Regions from separate parts of the Homo sapiens genome. Here regions 2 and 3 are each linked to region 1. The links are contacts of gene promoters, found by promoter capture Hi-C in blood cells and fetal thymus (Javierre and others, 2016). All regions are on one chromosome and are shown on one strand. Each heading gives the region's core, a stretch centred on a gene start or on the middle of the fragment in contact. The rest is flanking DNA. Distances are from core to core; before and after follow the strand shown.

The links. The method cuts DNA at HindIII sites, captures the fragments that hold promoters and counts their contacts. A CHiCAGO score of 5 or more calls a contact.
Region 2: a fragment that was not itself captured here is called in contact with the fragment with the promoter of HMX2 in region 1 in 1 of 17 cell types (neutrophils); the score reaches 6.2 in neutrophils.
Region 3: a contact is called between a fragment that was not itself captured here and the fragment with the promoter of HMX2 in region 1, in 1 of 17 cell types (monocytes). The highest score is 5.4, in monocytes.

Annotation. Positions count from the first base shown.
Region 1 is chr10:123,146,596-123,149,634 of GRCh38, reverse strand. HMX2 (H6 family homeobox 2) reads right to left here and starts at 1,499. Exons shown (of 2, transcript NM_005519.2): 1 at 989-1,499; 2 at 1-65. The coding sequence starts at 1,256. RefSeq lists silencers at 790-919, 1,310-1,629. The HindIII fragment of the contact is 9,748 bases long and covers 1-2,788 here.
Region 2 is chr10:125,728,683-125,732,117 of GRCh38, reverse strand. It overlaps EDRF1 (erythroid differentiation regulatory factor 1), which reads right to left. Exons shown (of 25, transcript NM_001202438.2): 7 at 3,014-3,115; 8 at 2,639-2,760; 9 at 1,719-1,830. Among named protein-coding and RNA genes, the nearest start is that of EDRF1, 11 kb to the right of the region's middle. The HindIII fragment of the contact is 1,114 bases long and covers 911-2,024 here.
Region 3 is chr10:125,828,304-125,831,422 of GRCh38, reverse strand. BCCIP (BRCA2 and CDKN1A interacting protein) reads right to left here. Exons shown (of 7, transcript NM_078468.3): 4 at 772-861; 5 at 1-3. Among named protein-coding and RNA genes, the nearest start is that of BCCIP, 6.3 kb to the right of the region's middle. The HindIII fragment of the contact is 3,325 bases long and covers 25-3,119 here.

The DNA of each region.
Region 1 (3,039 bases), core at 250-2,749:
AGGAGAGAGGAAAGGCGTGCGCTCCAAGCCGCCCGGGCCCGAGCCTCCGCTGCCCTTGGGGGTACCTGAGGAGCGAGAACAGACAGAAAGGCCATGGAGTTGGTTGGGGAGCCTCGGAGACCGCCAGCTCTCCCTGGGACCAAGCGGTTGGCAAGCGCCTGCAGCCTTGGTCCCACCTTACCAATCCCCTCCTCTTATCCCTCTCACTGGCCCCCCAAACCCAGCACCCCGTCCTTTAAAAGCGACAAGAGAGGGACCCAGCTACTTGGAGTATGGGGTCTCTGTGCTCCCACCTTTATGAATGGGCCAGGGGCAACAGGGAGAGGAGGTCTGGAGGGGGAAACATTAGCATGGTTTTAAAAGGCGAATTTGCTTGGTGGTAATTGAGCTGGAAGAGTTCCTCGAGCTTTATAGGGTGGCATCATTTCACAGGCCGTTTGTTTGGAAATCACGCTAAGGACTAACGCAGGACTCCCCTTCGTCAAATGTTGTAAAGAGGAACCGTCTCTGAAATGCACCATTGTCAATCATCTTGGAGTGCTAATCATTCCAAGGAGGAGAGAGAGAGAAAGGCAGAGATACGGAGCGAGTGAGGAAGAAGACTCAGAAAGAGATTACGGTGGAGACAGACTGCCCAGACCCGACTTGCAGATCTCCACCTCGTGTCCGGAAAGAAAGTACCAGATGTGCAGTGATTGAGGACAGCCGGGTGTAAGGCCGGCCGCGTGTCCCTCTCGCTGTGGTCCACTCTCTCAACAACTCAACCTTCCCCAGGAAGCCCAAGCCGGCACGGGTCTGTGTTCGCCTGCTCCCAGGGGCCCACCGGGCGGAGGAGGCACCACAGTGCGCGCCCCTCTCCCCGCGGTCCCGAACCCCCGGCTGCCGCAGCTCTGGCCAGAGGGGGCCCGGCGCGGGAGTCTTGGCGGGGCGCTCAGCCTCCCTCCCCTCGCGCTCGCTCGCTGCCACACTGGCGACGTGCGATCCTTACCCAGGCAAGGAAAAGGGATGGGGGGATGGTGCTTGGGGCCCTGCTCCTTAGGGCCGTGCTGGTCTGGGCAGAAGCAGGCGGGCGCCTTCCAGCCGTCGTCCGGCTCCTCCTCCTCCGAGGACACGGACAGGCTGCGCTTCCTGGCTGGCCAGCCGACGGGCTCCCGCGGTGCCTCCGAGGGGCCCCCGCCCAGGATGGACTGGATGGTGAAGCTGGAGACGCCACCGGCCGCCGGACACCCCTTGCCCGCATCTTCTTTGCTGCCCATCCTGGGTTCATAAGAAATCGAAGGAAACCAAGAACTCCCTTTAGAGACGATCTGGGTGATCTGGGTGGAAGGTGGTGCAGCAGGCAGGCAGTGGGGAGGGGCGGGGAGGAAATCTAGGGGGAGGGGGCGCCGAGGCTGGTGAGGCGTCCCTTCCGCGCCAGGGACATGCAGGCACCGGATGGCTGCGCAGGGGTTCCTGCCCGCCTGGCTCTGGGTGCGCCCGCCCAGCCCCGGTGCAAATGCCCCTTCCTCGCCCGCCAACTCGCCGGGTCTCCGGCGGCGCGGAGGCGGCGCGGCCTCATTTGCATAGAGGTTACCCGAACGCGGCCAATCGCAGCGCCGCCGAGCGGCCCCGGAAAATTTCAAAACGCTCCGGCCAGGCACACAGCACCGGTGCGCCCCCAGAGCGCGCCGAGGGCCTGGCGGGCATCAGCGGCGTCTAACCAGGGGCAGCCAGGGCTGAAAGCAGCTGCAGATTCTAGCCCGGGTTCCTGGCGGCTGCGGCAACTCCGACTCCTTGGACCCCTTGGACCCTTCTCTCCAGAGGCAGGGGCGGTGCGGGACTCGGAGCTGGAGTGGCTCGACGCCTCCGCAGGCGACGGGTCTCCGCGCCTCCCAGGGGCTTGTACAGGCTGCTCCACCATCCTCCCCCAGCCCTCCACCCCTTCTAGCCCCAGTGGGCGGGCAAAGCCGGCACTCCTGGGACCGTGGCGCCCTGCGTGGGGGTGAGGTGGGTTAGGAGCAGGCGTCTCCAGGCGGACGCTCATCCTCTCCAGCATGGCCAGGAGCCTTGGGAGCAGACATTCCCCTTCCCCGTCTGCAGACCTCATCCCTGTCACAGGTTCTACGGACCTACAGAATCTTTAGGGGGAGGGAGGAAGCCCTAAGACCTCTAGTCAAGAGATCTGGGTTCAAATTCCGGCACAACTATTTACACACTGCATGAACTTGCACAACTCATGCCGATTAAAGCCTCTCTGCCCTCATAGTTGAAAATAACTTCTCGGATTGCCTCAGGTAGGGATTAAAAGCCTCGAAGCACTAGCAGCGCATAGTAGGTACTCCATAAACCTGGCCGGGTAGCCCATGGCCCACCCGTGTTTTAAGCGAATCTGTGTTTTTGTTTTGTAAATTTTGAAGGTTTCCGAACTGCTGCAGAAATAGACGCCTTACTCCCAGGAAGAAGATAAGGAACTGGTGACAGGACTCGGTTTTAGAATTGAGCAGACTCGACTCAATTCTCGGCTGGGTGATCTTGGGGGAAGACATTTGGAAATTCTGAGGCTCGGTTTCTTTATTCCTAAAATTGGAGGAAGCAGTGCCTCCCTCGCAGAGGCTGTTGTGAGGTCAAACTACCCAGCACCGAGCCTGGCACACCGTGGTGCTCAGTAAATAGTGATTCCCTCTGTGTTCTCATAGCCCCCTTCTGTGCCCTGGCTCTCGCCCCTTTAATTCCTAGATCAGCTGTTACCCGAGCTAGAATTAGCCCAGCCAAGCAAAGCGGTTTGGGGCCACAGTCGTCTGCACAAGCTTCCTGGAAACTGAAGTGAGGCAAGGCCCGAAGTGCTCAGGCAACCCCGTCCCCTCAAGCTGTGACCTCTAGACCTCTTGGCCAAGAGATTCCAGAAGCCCTGTCTTTAGGGTGCCCCCCAAGTGCAGCCAAGGGTGAGTGGAGACTCTGGAATCAGTCCCCACAAATGTCCAGACACTGCATGACTGTGCAGTTCCTTCCTCGCCTGCACCGCGCCCGGGTTATTAAGTAAAGCGCTTATAATATCATTAG
Region 2 (3,435 bases), core at 218-2,717, 2.6 Mb before region 1:
ACATCCTACTGATACTAGAACACTGGGGGCCCAAGCAAGTGCATTTTTTCAGAGACCACAAGTGATTCTGATGCACAACCAGGTTAAGAATCACTGGGTTGGAATATAACGGTTCAAAGCATGTCCTCAGCCAGAGAGAGGCACAAAGACTGGCACCGCCACTCACTACTAAGTTGACCCTGGGCAACTCACTTGAGCTCCTTGATCCTCAGTCTCTCTTTCCATCAAATAGGAATAACAGCATGTGAGGTAGCTAAGAAGATCAAATAAGGTAAAGCATTTAAAGCATTCAGCAAAGTGCTTGGATAAAATAAGCACTCAATAAATGCTATCTATTCTTACCATTGTTGATTCTTAATAGTTCCTCTCTAGTGGAAAGTACATTACACTATCTGCAAAATGGTACAATGCCTCTGGTTTTCTTGTCTCTAAGTCCTCCTTTTCTGTCCTATATGCTATCTCTAAATTAATATTCTAACACAACAAATTTCCCCTCCTAGATGCAAAGCCTTCTGATTCCAGATTACCAACTGAACCAAGTCCATACTCCTTAGCTCAACATTTAAGATCTCCATCATTTGACCATGACTTTTCCAACCTTACTTGCAGCTATTCTGCTACATAAATCCTGTGTTCCCTAGCTGGATTTATTATCAATCCTTTCATGTATTTACACTAGACTTTTAAAATCCAGCTCTTATTTTTTGAGATACTAGCTATCATTCAGGACTCAGTTAAGATGTCCCTTCTTCCACAAAGTCTTTCCTCCAGACCTGAATGGAAGTGCTCACCCCCTTCTCTGATGATCTAGATTTCTGTGTGCTACACTTCTAATTCTTATCTGTCTCCTACTGTTCTCTCTGCATATTATTTCCCATTAGATTATCTCTTTCTGAATAACAACCAAGCTTATTCTTTGTTTTCCTTCAACAATTATTTATTGTTTAAATTCTCAATTTTTTTATTTTTTTGAGACAGGGTCTTGCTCTGTCACTCATACTGGAGTGCAGTGGCACGATCATAGCTCACTGCAGCCTCAAACTCCTGGGCTCAAGTGATCCTCCTGCTTCAAGCCCCCAAGTAGCTGGGACTACAGACATGTACCACCATGCCCAACTAAGTGTGTGCGTTGTTTTTCTACAATTAGGGTCTCACTACGTTGCCCAGGTTGGTCTTGAACTCTCGGCTTCAAGTGATCCTGCTGCCTCAGTCTCCTGAGTAGCTTGGGATTACAGGAATAAGCCAACACGCCTAGCTTCCCCCAACACTTATAATGGGGATACGTGTCTTCTAAACAGAATATGCTCAATAAGAATTTGCTATATAAGCTATCCACCATATGCAATTTTTACAAGACCTTTCCCTAAAACTTTGCATGTACTGAGTAGATATTTGCATAACGAAGAAACGCCTCCATTGTGTAGACACTTTCAGTTAATTATTAATGAGAGCTTGGCATTAAAATTAGAGTTCTATGGCTACAAATGCAGGTTTTCATATATTTATGAACTTCCTCCAAATTACCTGTAAAATTATACTTCTATAACATCTACAATTCTGTTATCACCAACTTAAATGTACACTCAAATTCAGTTTATTCACAGCTATCTTCCCTGGCAAAAATGCACCTTAGTACTTCAGGGCCGTAAAGACTTTGGTGAGGAACTCTCTGTACCAATTTGCATTTGAGAGATCAGAAAAATCACACTGTATCTTACCTGTACAATTCCATTTACATGAAAACACATCACAAGCTCTGGCACATTGCATATCAAGTTGTCCAACCAATAGTCAATTCCAGTTAGCACATTAATTGGTTTGTTGTTATCCCTAAAAATATACATTTCTAGTGTTATTTGGTTTAATTAAGATGTTCCTTAATTAATCATCTGAAAGTTATTTCACCATTTAAGTATCTTAAGCTGTCCTCTCTAGATAGAAAATGCCATCTATGCTTTCTTTTCTGATAAGATATGCACATGCAGCTCAGTGGTTGTGCTATATTTAACATCTTTCCAAAAGCTTGCTTGTATTTCTAACTGACATTGGTAAGTTTTCAGTAAGAATAGAAGACAATATAATAGGAAAGGACGGTGAGCCTACTGCCTGCTCCTCACACACAACTTGAAGAAAGACTGAACACCATACAAGACCATGCTTAAGTTGGAATTCACATTGGCTAATATCAACAAATACACGTGGAGCATTAAGAAAAATGCTCACAAGTAGTTAGTAGGAATCTAACTAATTAAATAAACTCTCTTGAATATTCTCACAAGTTGTAGATTCAGACCTAAGACTAGGCCAGTCCAACAAACCTCTGGCTCTATTCAATGAGGTCTAGAATGAAGACTCAGCTATAGGCCTGCCTTTCAGCATCTGCTGACAGTAGCTCCTTCCTTAATGTGGCCATTTCAACTGGCAGGGGAAGGAGGGAGGGGAAAAAACCTAGAGAAAGAGGAAGATGCCCAAATAGATGGAACACTGATTCTTTTTTGAGACGAGTCTTGCTCTTTCGCCTAGGCTGGAGTGCGGTAGCATGATCTTGGCTCACTGCAACCTCAGTCTGATGGAACACTGATTCTAAAGGAAGAATTTAAATACCATAAGCTTGAGGAGGGGTATGATGTTAGTTCACCTGAGACGTAAGCTGACTGCTGGGTATCTGCCTCCTCCAAATATGGGCATGTTGGAGCCGACCAACATATGGATATCTTCAAATGTCCATAGAATATTCCGAACAAAATCATTTTTAAGACCCTGTGATTTAAAATAGGGAGGATTATAATAAACAGTCAATCTGTAATTTCCCCCCATGATCCATAAAAAGACTAGAAAAAGGAAGAGACAAAGAAGACAAAGTCAGGCCCCAGAGCTAAGATCACAAAGATGCTTAGAAAGCAGTTTCAGGATCAAGTGGAGTTTTTCCCTATCAATTTCGACTTAGGCTAGTTTTGAAATGACAAAGTAGACTGGGGATTTGCTGTCACCTTGGACACCATGGAAAGCATACCTGACTGTGCTCCCCGTCATTGAATAAAGTAATCAGGTTTTGTTCTTTGGGGGCTGAGGCCACATGCCCCACTATGTATGAGGGTTCAAGAGGCTCACTTCCCTGTGAAAAGTGCAAGGATAAGGAGTGATTCTGCTGTCAACATTTCTTAAAATTGACCCACTTTTGAGAGTATCACCTAAATATTCAAAGCACACACTTCAAATCTACCATTGTGAATTATTAGGCCAATACAAATAATAACACGCCTCATTGGGTGGCTTGCTTTGGCTAATGATCATAGCTACTATAAGAAGCGAATCACATTTAGATCTTACTCAAGAGAGATAGATTAAAGATTATTCTAAACTTTCTAAGTTTTTCATTTTTCTCTTTTTTGGTGCATCTGATTACCACTGCTCTTTCAGCCTACTCTATCTATA
Region 3 (3,119 bases), core at 438-2,937, 2.7 Mb before region 1:
ACCCTAGAAAGCAAAGAGAAAGCTTGTTTCCTATTACAAGCCATCACATAGAGGACAAAACCTGAGAGTAAAAGCTATCACTTTTCATCTTACAGCTAAGGGCAGTTTCCTGCCATAGCCTTAACGTCTTGTATGTCTTCAGTGTTGACTGCTTAAGCATTTCTCAAAAGTAAATACACTGGTTATTTACCATCCCATGATGAGTGGTAAGAGAGTCATAATTAACATTCAGACACACTGGAATGGCAACTCTAGTCCATCTCATAAAGATAGATGGAAGTAACTGGACAGTTTATTTCAAAATTAAAGACTAAGTGTAGCCTGCATCTTATTCTGAGGTGGGTAAGCAGCTGGTTTACTTTTTATTACAACTCATCAGAGAATCAATAAAAAGAGATGAATCGAAACAAAATAAAATGTCAGTAAATGCCCTCAACATTGAGGCAGCAAAGCCTGAGAATATCCCCACTACACAAGTAGCAAAGATAACAGCTGCAGAGAGACAGCACAAACAGCTCCTGCATCAGTACCAACATCAGGACTGCAAAGCCAGATGATTCCCTAAACCACAGGGAGTAAACAACTTTAACTGGGTACAGACCCAACACCACCACCTTCATATTGAAAAAGGATTACAATAAGATTTCACAAGAGCACTTATCCCTATAGTTAATATCACTGTTTAACATAAAAGACATTTTCACCATGCATTAAATAAAAGTGGTTTTGGCCTAAGAAATAACCATTCAGATGCCATCCAGTGAAACCAACCTTTCTTTCAGTTAAATTTAAAAGGCTTATGAAACCAAAAACCTCATCTTCATCCATATCATCATTGCTGTCTTCTGAAACATCCGTTTGCTATTTTAAAAGAAAAAATATTTAAATGTTATATTTAGTATAATACCAAGAGTATAAAACCAAGTCTTGGGATGTAGGCCTCATTTATCTTTTCACTTTTCAAAAGCAAAACTTTGTTTTACCACCGCCATCTTAGAAAGCATTGTATTTTAAATACTGTCACAGTTTTACCACCATCATCTTGGAAAGCATTGTATCTTAAATACTGTGTGACCTTGTTCATTTCGCTTTACCTCGACTCTGTTCCTCTTTTCAGATTCTGAACAGATTGAAATTTCTTTGTACCAGATTAAGTCATTTTCTTTTATCAGATTCTCAATATAATACAAATCCAGAAGAGATAAACCTCATGAAATAAAGCATTTTCATTTGTTTTCTACACAATTAGGCTGGAGCCAAGCCTTGCTTCTCTGCTGGCCCACAGCATTGTTTCATCTAAAACTCATGAGTTTCCAGAACACTTGTCAGTCTTGACCATTAGTGAAGCTAGGCAATGCTTGAGGGCCACTTACACCTATCACATTAGCAAGAGAGAAGGGGAAAAAAGAGAACCCCCTGCCCTTTGTTCTATGATCCTAGGGACTGGCTCCACCGAACACTATGGGTAGTCCCTTTACTAAGAACAAGAAGTCTCTATCCTCAGGACACCTCAAGTGTCTCTGGAGAATCCCAAGAAGCCACAGTTACAACTGCAGAGCTATTGATGTGATTATCCATTTAAAGAGTGAATCCTGCCATTAGATAATAACCTCTTTCAAGGATAAAAATAACTGCTTCTCCTCCATATCCATTAGGTCTTCTAAGACACGAATCAGCTAGAGATCACATTTATTTGATGAAAGGGCAGGTGGTCTGCTTTTTCCCATTGCCCTAATAAAAGGAATGCCCCATAGGTTTAATTTCTCATTTTCTTTACATTGAGTGCCATAAAGTTACTAATATTGTCAGAAGCCTTGAAAAGTGTACACTGTATTTAGTAACAAGTATGTTGGTGACCCTATCACTCAGTGTCCGAATTTTAGTGGTGTAAAAGTCAGATAAGAGTGTCTGAAGAATGAATAGGAGGACAGGAAGTAGAAACCATGACTTAAGATTACTTTTCAAGAATTTTGGCTCTGAAGGTGATGTACTTAAGAGTGGAACATTAGACTGAATGGAGCTTTTGTTTGTTGTGTTTTTCACAACAGGCTAGGGAACAGGTGCTAGGAACAGGAAAAAGACATCAACAGTGACAGCTACACATATGTAGCACATGTCAGCTGCCAGACACTGTTTTAAGCAGTCAGCAATTCATTTTGTTTACCCATGCACTCTACAAGATCGGTGCTAGTACCATCCTCATTTTCAGAGACAGAAATGGAAACAGATTAAGGTACTGTGGCAGACTGTATCTTTCACAGATGGCCCCAATGGATCTCTCCTTGGACATGCTCTTCTGACAAAGTGACCTAGGTACTTTTCTCATGGAGTGGTGGGATCAATGTGCCCTCCCCCTAGATAGAAATTTCTATCTGTAAAGACTAAGCAAATGGTGGAAATGGCACTATATCACTTCTGCCTGCTTCTTTTGGGCAGCTTGCTCTTGGAAGCAAACCAATGTGTGACGAGGCCCACATGGAGAAGAACTAAGGCCCCTGGTCCAGAGTCCCAGCTAAGCTCCCGACAGACAGCTAGGGCTAACTTGCCAGTCATGTGAGTGAGCCATCTTGAAAGGGAATCCTCCAGCCCCTAGTCAAGCCACCCCAGCTAACATGATGGAGCAGGAGCACAGATGAGTTGTGCCCACTGAGCTCTGTCCAAACTGTAGATCCATTAGCCAAATAAATGACTACTGCTATTTTACGACACTAAGCTATGGGGTGGTTTGTTATACAAACAACAGATAACCCAAAGAACCACCAGATGATAAGCAGCAGACCCAGGGTCTAAACCAGTCCTTATTTTGTTGAGCTCTCTACAACATCTATCTGATAAAGATGACCATCCCCTCCTCCTTCAAATGTTATCTTTCTTGCTGTGTATGACATCACTGCACTATTGTTTCTTCTACTTCTCCTGTCATCCCTTTTAATCTCCTTTGCTGGCTCTGCCACTTATATTACTCATCGAAGTATTCTTGGTATTACTAAGGTGTCTGTCCCTTCCCTCCCTGCGCAATCTCAATCACTTCTACGACCTCAGTAACATTTACGACCAACTCCCAAGTCTCCAGGGCTCCACCTGCTACCCGGTATCTCACAGGTAACTCAAACTCAAAA